2 separate regions of the Homo sapiens genome follow, and region 2 is linked to region 1. The links are contacts of gene promoters, found by promoter capture Hi-C in blood cells and fetal thymus (Javierre and others, 2016). All regions are on one chromosome and are shown on one strand. Each heading gives the region's core, a stretch centred on a gene start or on the middle of the fragment in contact. The rest is flanking DNA. Distances are from core to core; before and after follow the strand shown. Region 1 holds the start of BLOC1S4 (biogenesis of lysosomal organelles complex 1 subunit 4). Region 2 has its middle 2.1 kb from the start of WFS1.

Region 1 (3,984 bases), core at 1,214-3,713:
AAAATCTTTTAGCAATGTTTTGTTATGTAAGGATATTTTCATATTCAGTGACTATGTCATCGAAACACATGAATTACTTATAGGGGTACCAGCAGTTGCTGAATATTAAATGTAGGTTACTTGTTCTTTCAGCTTCTACATTCAGAGTTCCTTAATTTGTCGTCAATGAACCACCTGAATAAAAAACGTAAATATGTGACAATGAAGGTCCACGAAAGCTAGGTGCAAGATTACATGATCAGATTCTTCACAACACACAGCTAAATGAAAATACAGCTACTCTATGAACCTCAAAGATCTTTGATGACACTGCAAATGACACAAAAGCAACCTAAGCTGTATGCTTTTTTAGCATCTACTATTTAGGAGGGCCACCTTATAAAATAGATTTGAATCTCAATAAAAGTCTACTGTATCCGCAGGAAAATCCTAATACCATTCACTCACACAAATAATTTAACTATCCATTTCGAGAGGAAAGAAATATACCATGCTCTGGACGGGCGCGGTGGCTCACGCCTGTAATCTCAGCACTTTGGGAGGCCGAGGCAGGTGGATCACGAGGTCAGGGGATCGAGACCATCCTGGCTAACACAGTGAAAACCCGTCTCTACTAAAAAAAAATACAAAATACAAAAAAAATTAGCCGGGCATGGTGGCAGGCGCCTGTAGTCCCAGCTACTCAGGAGGCTGAGGCAGGAGAATGGCGTGAACGCGGGAGGCGGAGCTTGCAGTGGGCCGAGATTGCGCCACTGCACTCCAGCCTGGGCGACAGAGCATGACTCCGTCTCAAAAAAAAAAAAAAAAAAAAAAAAGAAAAGAAATATACCATGCTCTGAAATAGAAGCTACAGCTTTTCACATTAGCTCTCTAAAGGAGGTATACTCAAGCCCCTTTTCTTTATCCCACTACTAAAAAAGCACATGAGCAGTACGTCTATTTCAAACACACACAAGGAAATACGTAAAGCTCTTTTCAGAAGGAAATCATTTCCAATAAAACTCAAAATTTCTATTAACATTTAAATTATAAACCAAACATTGGCAACCCACATATATATATACACACACACACACATATGTTTGCTATGGACAAATGAAGACTGTGAGGTCATACTTTCAAATACAACTTTGGAATTAGTCACAAAAAATCAACATATATTCTCAGAAATTGTACCATTTCCTTTGGTCTACAATCCACGCTATAGGAGGTTTAATATAATATTAAATAATGTACCATTTACCCTAAAAGTAGGTTCTAGAAAACTGACTATTAGGATTGAATAACAAGGCTTTAATGGCTCAATTTTCTTATGATTATACAAACATATAAATCTTGAAAAGGTAACGCCATTTAGTAAAATCCATAAAAATAACAGTTTTGCCACAGTGCAGAGAAAAGTTCATTCAGTTTGATTCCCCATGCCCTCGACAAGCAGCTTTCTGATTAGAGCTGGAAGACACAGGCTGGGTGCAGTGGCGACCCCGTAGTCCCAGCTACTGGGGAGGCTGAGGTGGAAGGATCACTTGAGCCCAGGAGTTTCCGAACAGTCTGGGCAACATACCAAGACCCTGTCTCTTTTTTTAAACTTGGAAGACATAAAGTCTATACATTCTACACTGAATCATGAATATACTACGGAGAGTTTGTAGAAAGTAAACTTTAAAATCCCACACTCCAACATCATATATGTCCATAAGCAGGATTTGCAATTCACTTCATACTGGAGGTAAGCACCCCAGCTGGGGTCCTCTTGCCGCAGTGGTCAGGCCGTCAGAGCTGAGGCCTTTCACTGCAACAAGGGAAGTAGTCTTCGGTCCGAAACAGGACGGGGGCTTCGTAGCCGGCTTGCTGTGGCCTCGAGGGAGCAGACTTGCTAAAGAGCGAGGGCACGTTCATCGTGTGCAGGAGCTTCTTGAACGCCCTGGGGAAGGTGCCCAGCTCGGCCTCGGCCTTGGTGACCTGCTCCTCCATCCTGGCCACGCGGCCCCCCACCATCCTCACGAAGGCCTCCAGCCGGTCGATCCTGCTGTAGATGCGCCGCATCTCGGCGGCCTTCGCGTGGATGCGCGGCACGCCCTCGCTGACGACGTGGGACGAGTCGCCGCGAAGCATGTCCAGCATGCCCACGAACTCGTCCACTCTGGTAAGCAGGTCCTCTAGGCTCGCGTCCAGGGCCTCGACCTCGGGCCGCGCCCCGGCCCCGGGCAGCAGGCAGGCGGCGTAGCCCGCAGCGGCGCGGCGAAGCAGCGGCAGGTCGCGGCCCGGCGCGCCGTCCTCCGCGCCCTCGTCCTCCCACGGCCCCGAGGCGCTGCTGTGGCTCTGGGAAACAGTGCCACTGTCCCCGCTCCAGGCGGCGCCCTGCGGCTCGGCCTCTTCCGCGAGCCCCTCCGGCAGCGCTCCGCCATCCGAAAAGCTACCCTCCATGGCCCGCGACCACCCGACTGCGCAGCGCTCGCTTCCGGCCTCCGCGCGCTCACGCTCACGCACCCGCACACGCACGCACGCGCGCTCACGCCTTTGCTTCCGGCGGCCTGCGAGGGCGTCTGTTCACGCGCATCCACCTTTGTTTCCGGCCTCCCAGCGCGCTCACGCTCACGCATGCGCGCTCACGCTCACGCATGCGCGCTGCTGTTTTCTCACGCCCGAACTCACATTCAACCTTTTTTTTCTTTTTTAAGCGAAGGTATAGCAGGAATACAATACAGTGCATACATTTTAAGTGTGCACATTGATGACTTTGTACACATCCATACAACCATGCATCTTCTATCCAGACCAACAGGTAGGACATGTCCAGCACCCATGAACGTCTCCCTCCTGTCCTTCATTTCTTTTTGCTGTTTATAGTAAAATAAATGAGATAAGCAAGACGAAACACAAAAGGGATGGACCTTGACGACTTTGGATGATTTTTAAAGTCCTCAGCTTCGCCTGATTGCAAATGGCGTAAAACTAAGAAATAGTAATAGTTTCCAAGCAAATATCAAATCCAGGGTACTGCCAGAAAAAAACAAAGGTGAAGTTGAGATGTGACGGTTAAATCCTTTAAAATCTCAAAAAAAAAAGCAAAGACGGTGCCTGAGAATACCATTCAGTTAGACTAACAGCTCCTTAAAGAGATTAATGGTGTGGCTCACAGAGTCCATCAGTCAAACCACAAGGCCTCCAGAAGGCTTAAGGCTTGTTCGTCAGTATTAGCAGAAGCCCAAGATAGAGATGGACTTATCTCAAAGGGATTTGTAGGTAGCACTTTTGTTTAACGGAGTGAACCCCGATGAGATTCACAGGAGACCTATAAAGTTTTTTAAAGATAATTATATTGACACAAACATTGCAGATTGGACTGAAAGGAACAGGCCTTTGGATCCCCTCTCCCCAAACTTGTACAAGCAGGAATCAGACTGAGAAAAAGACTCATTGGCAAACACATGCCACATTTCACAAAAAAGGAAGTATAACTCAGGGCATGAAACCAGGAGCCCAGATGGTGGAACTGGGAGTCATGGAGTCCTAGACCTTGAGACTGGATGGCAGAGTTACTGTGGGCTGGCAACTTGTTTGTACTTCCAATTTCCCCCTTTTTGAACAGGAGTGGCAGTGGCTAATCTAGTCGTAGTGGAGCAGAACAGGTCTGTAGTGATTATCCTGTGCCAGCCCCACAACTGTATATTCCAGGCATGGGGGCAGAGAACTTGTCTCCTTAGTTTCAAAAGTCTACAGATCAAGAAGAATTGTACTCTAGGAGCTGAATTTAAGGAACTAAGCTCAGAAAGCCTCATCTACATCTGATCTTATTGAGAAGACAAAATTCTGGACTTAAAGCTGATGTGACAATAGGATAGTAATACCTAAAACTACATGAGATTTAAAAAAATGTAACTTTTGGGGACCTTGGATAGAGGGGAGTGTGGTTAGCACGTTAAAATGGCATGAAGAATTGGTAGTCAGGGGGCAAACTGTGATTGCTAGCCAGCCTTCAAG
Region 2 (3,939 bases), core at 293-2,792, 450 kb after region 1:
CTGAGTGGCCGGTGTAGCCGCCAATCACTCCACATCTCCGCCAATCACGGTGCGCCTCGCCTAGCTGCGGCCCGGCACTCCCCCTGCGTGGTTGGGCCCGAGGGGCCAGAAGGCGGGTCCGGCTCGCCCACAGCGAAAGTTTCCGAGCGGACTCGGGCCCCGGCCCCGCCCCCGCCCCGCCCGCGGAACGTCCAGTTGCTTAGCGAGGCCGCTCGCCTTCTCCTGTAACAGGTGGTTTGGACCCGTGGAAAAGGCTCCGGCCACCTTTCATCCACCACTCCGGCCTCAGCGTCCCCAACTGCAGATTCATTATATTTGCTGTTGCAATATTAACACACGTCTTGAGCGCCTATTCCGGCGCTGCAAGAGAGTCTAAGGGCTCCCCTAATAACAGCAGCAGAGATGGAAAAATGGGGCCTGTTTGAAACGAGTGTCTGCAGCCAAGTACTGCTTTCAGTGCCCAGAATCAAATGCAGTGTAGCAAGCTTTTCACACGGTGACTGTGGGATTCCTTTAAAGTGTGTGTTAGCCCAGGGAGTGGGCAAGGCTCAGGCAGTTTGGAGACTCTGGGAGTTTGGTTCCTGTCTGGGAGGCGTGGTTTGGAGATGAGGGCGAGGGTCTATCCTTGAGAGGCCCTGGGGAACGTGAGACCCTGCCTGCTCTGTCTCTGGTCCCCACAACCAACCTGAGCTACCTGTCCTAGTTATCACAGCAGAAACTGGGGCTCGGAGTGACTGTCAGAGATAATGCTTACCAACATGTTGGGAGCAAATATTCCAGATGGCTTTGGAGATGAGTTCTGAACACACTACTTCGGAGGACTTTTGTCAAAGCGGCGTAGTTCATGTCAGTCACCTCATTTGATTCTCCAGCTGCCCCCACTGCCCACCCCCGATCCCCAATGTTCACGTGTGACCCTGTGAGGCTCACAGAGGAAGGAAGAACACCTGCCGTCAGCCTCGCCTGCTCTGTCCAGGTTGGCTTAGGGGCTTTCACAGCTTTCAAGGGCCCCCCTAGTGACCCAAGGAGGGAGGTGGCACTGAGCCCATTTTTTATTGATGTGAAAATTGAGGCTCAGACATAGTTATTTGCCCAAAGTCTTGAAGATGTCTTTCCACCTTATCACACACTAACTGTAGAAAATTTGGAGAATTACTAAAAGTAGAAAGGAGAAAAAAAATCACTCAAAGATGATCACTGTTCACATTGTGAGATTTATGCACATTTAAGAAAATAATAAATATTAATGTGAACACACAATCACAGAGAGGCTGAAGCACTTCCCAAACCCTTTGCAGGGGCTCATTAAGCAGAGAGAAGAGGACAGATTGAAAAGTTCCTCCTGTGGAGGTCTAAGGGAAGAGAGGAAGTGCAACAAAAAATCTACAAGATGGCTTAAGGAGCCTCTATCAGAACACAGCAACACTGAACATACTCCACGGAGCTAAGAGACTGAAAAAGCAACAGGCAAATTCAGAAAGAGAAGAGTGGAGGTGAGGACAAATGAGCAAACTGGAAGATAATGTGGAGTAAATGCTTCATGATGTAGAGGAAAAGCACATGAAAATCATCAGGACAAAAAGCAGAGACTGGAAAGACAGTTCCAGGAGGTGTATTGCACAAAGGACAGGTACTCCAGGAAGAGCTGGAGGGGAAACAGAGGTGAGCAAAGTGCCAGGAGAACGTGTCCCTGGAAATCCCAGATGCCAAGGATAAAGAGACGGTCTTGCAGAGTTCCAGAAAGAACAGGTCACATCTAAGGGGAGAAAAGTTGAAGTGGTTCCTAGGGGACTTTGGAGCAATGTCCAGGGACTCTGATGATAGGATCAAGGATCCTTACCATGGCTACTACAGGATTCATCTATGTGGACAAAAGAGAGAAAATATCCACTGTGGCAAGACAGAGAAAGGACCTCAGTGATGTCCCCTTTCAGAGGAAGATATTCAGAGTTCCCCCGTCACCGAGACAGTTCAATCACAGTAGAGATTTCAAGATAGAGCAAACGCTCAGAACAGGAAGTGGTGTTAAGCAATGACCCTTGCAAAATATACAGTATGGATAATCCACATGTGCCTGTGATTTTGTACTAGCAGTGCCACATAAGGATTCTTAAAACATAAGCTACATGCTTCAAGAGAAAGTTGTATTAGCCTGGAACTAAAAAAAAAAATAGAATCTTATCACAGAGAAGTCAGAATATTTTAAGATCACATTTGGTTGAGGGGAGAAGGAGGAAGTAAAAGGATCTGATTTGGTGAGTGGGGAAGGAAAGCCTTATTGGTGGTTGGGAGGGGTGCTTCATTACCATTTACTTTTAATACATTAGCAGGGAAAGATTGGTTTAATTATGACTCTCAGCTGGGGAAGGAAAGCCTTATTGGTGGTGGGGAGGGGGCTTCATTACCATTTACTTTTAATACATTATCAGGGAAAGATTGGTTGAATTATGACTCTCAGGAATTGGAAAGTAGCAACTCACGGGAAAGAAGCAGAGTAGAACTCCTGAATTACTAGGTAGAAGTTGGGGGAGGGGTGGAGGGAGAGTAAGGAAGCAAAATTAAGGGGGAAAGTAAATAATAGCAAGAACAATAAGCTTAATAATAGTAAACATAAGATGAGATAAAATAAATAAAGCCATGGCTACCCGCCTTCGTAACACGGTGAATGGGCTGAATTTCCCATCCAAAGTCTGTAAGATTGGGGCAAAAACTAAAGTCCAGTTAAGCGCTATTTACAAGAAACACACCAAAAATATTGAGAAGTAGAAGATCACAGCAGACATTTGAAAAATGGCAAATTACTATTGATAAGGAAGAACGCATGATGGAAAGCATTCACGGGAAGAGTGGTATTATGTAAGGGTGCCAGGCACAATCCACAAAGATTTCATTGTCATGAATCTGAATGAGCCAGAAAATCTAGTAGCCACACACTTAAAGCAGTAACTGCTAGAAATACTAGAACTTATTAAAACACAACTCTGGTGGGAGAAAGAGCCAGCTGTTCAATGCTATCTTTTCTAGGACACCTGTCCTCATTCCCCCAAGAGCTGAGCTCTGCATGTTGCTGCTGAGTATTGAATGAATGAATGGATGGATGGATGGATGAATCACCTATGCAAGGACTTCATATAAGCTCTTTCTTGCCCATAGGACAGTGTCCAAACTCTTTAACCTGACATCCAAATATACCCCCCACAATTCAGTCCTTTGATGTCTGCCCATGATTTTCAGACTCTGCATTCAAGTTCTTGGCCCACTTCCTTCCCTACACCTATTTAAAACCTACTTCCATTTACTCAACAAACATTTAGTGACTTTTGGCCAGGCGTGGTGGCTCACACCTGTAATCCTAGCCCTTTGGGAGGCCGAGGTGGGTGGATCACTTGAGGTCAGCAGTTCGAGACCAGCCTGGCCAACATGGAGAAACCCCATCTCTACTAAAAATACAAAAAAATTAGCCGGGCGTCATGGCACATGCCTGTAATCCCAGCTACACAGGAGGCTGAGGCAGGAGAATCGCTTGATCCCAGGAACTGGAGGTTGCAGTGAGCAGAGATCATGCCACTGCACTCCAGCCTGGGCGACAGAGTAAAACTCTGTCTCAAAAATAATAAGAATAATAATAAAATAAATAAAAATTAAAAAATATAAACATTTAGTGACATCCTGCCTGTTCCAGGCATTGGACTACATGCCAAGTATTCAAAGAAAATGAGGACAGAGGCTTGGTGAGTTGTCATTTGAAAGACAGCAGAGTGTGGCGGTTTACAGGCTATTGGTGTACAAGGCCCCCAAAGAGATCACTTCCTGGAGCCTGTGAATGGTACCTTATTTAGAAAAGGGTTTTTGCAGATGTGATTAAGGATTTTGAGAAGGGGCCATTAGCCTGGCTTATCTCCTTGCAGGAGAGAGGCAGACAGAGATTTGACCACACAC

Evidence for each region. The method cuts DNA at HindIII sites, captures the fragments that hold promoters and counts their contacts. A CHiCAGO score of 5 or more calls a contact.
Region 2: a contact is called between a fragment that was not itself captured here and the fragment with the promoter of BLOC1S4 in region 1, in 1 of 17 cell types (total B cells). The highest score is 5.7, in total B cells.

What each region holds. Positions count from the first base shown.
Region 1 is chr4:6,714,653-6,718,636 of GRCh38, reverse strand. BLOC1S4 (biogenesis of lysosomal organelles complex 1 subunit 4) reads right to left here and starts at 2,463. Exons shown (of 1, transcript NM_018366.3): 1 at 973-2,463. The coding sequence starts at 2,427. The coding sequence ends at 1,774. RefSeq lists enhancers at 1,422-2,061, 2,544-2,743 and a silencer at 2,214-2,263. The HindIII fragment of the contact is 17,705 bases long and covers 1-3,984 here.
Region 2 is chr4:6,265,830-6,269,768 of GRCh38, reverse strand. No RefSeq gene overlaps it. Among named protein-coding and RNA genes, the nearest start is that of WFS1, 2.1 kb to the left of the region's middle. The HindIII fragment of the contact is 2,109 bases long and covers 488-2,596 here.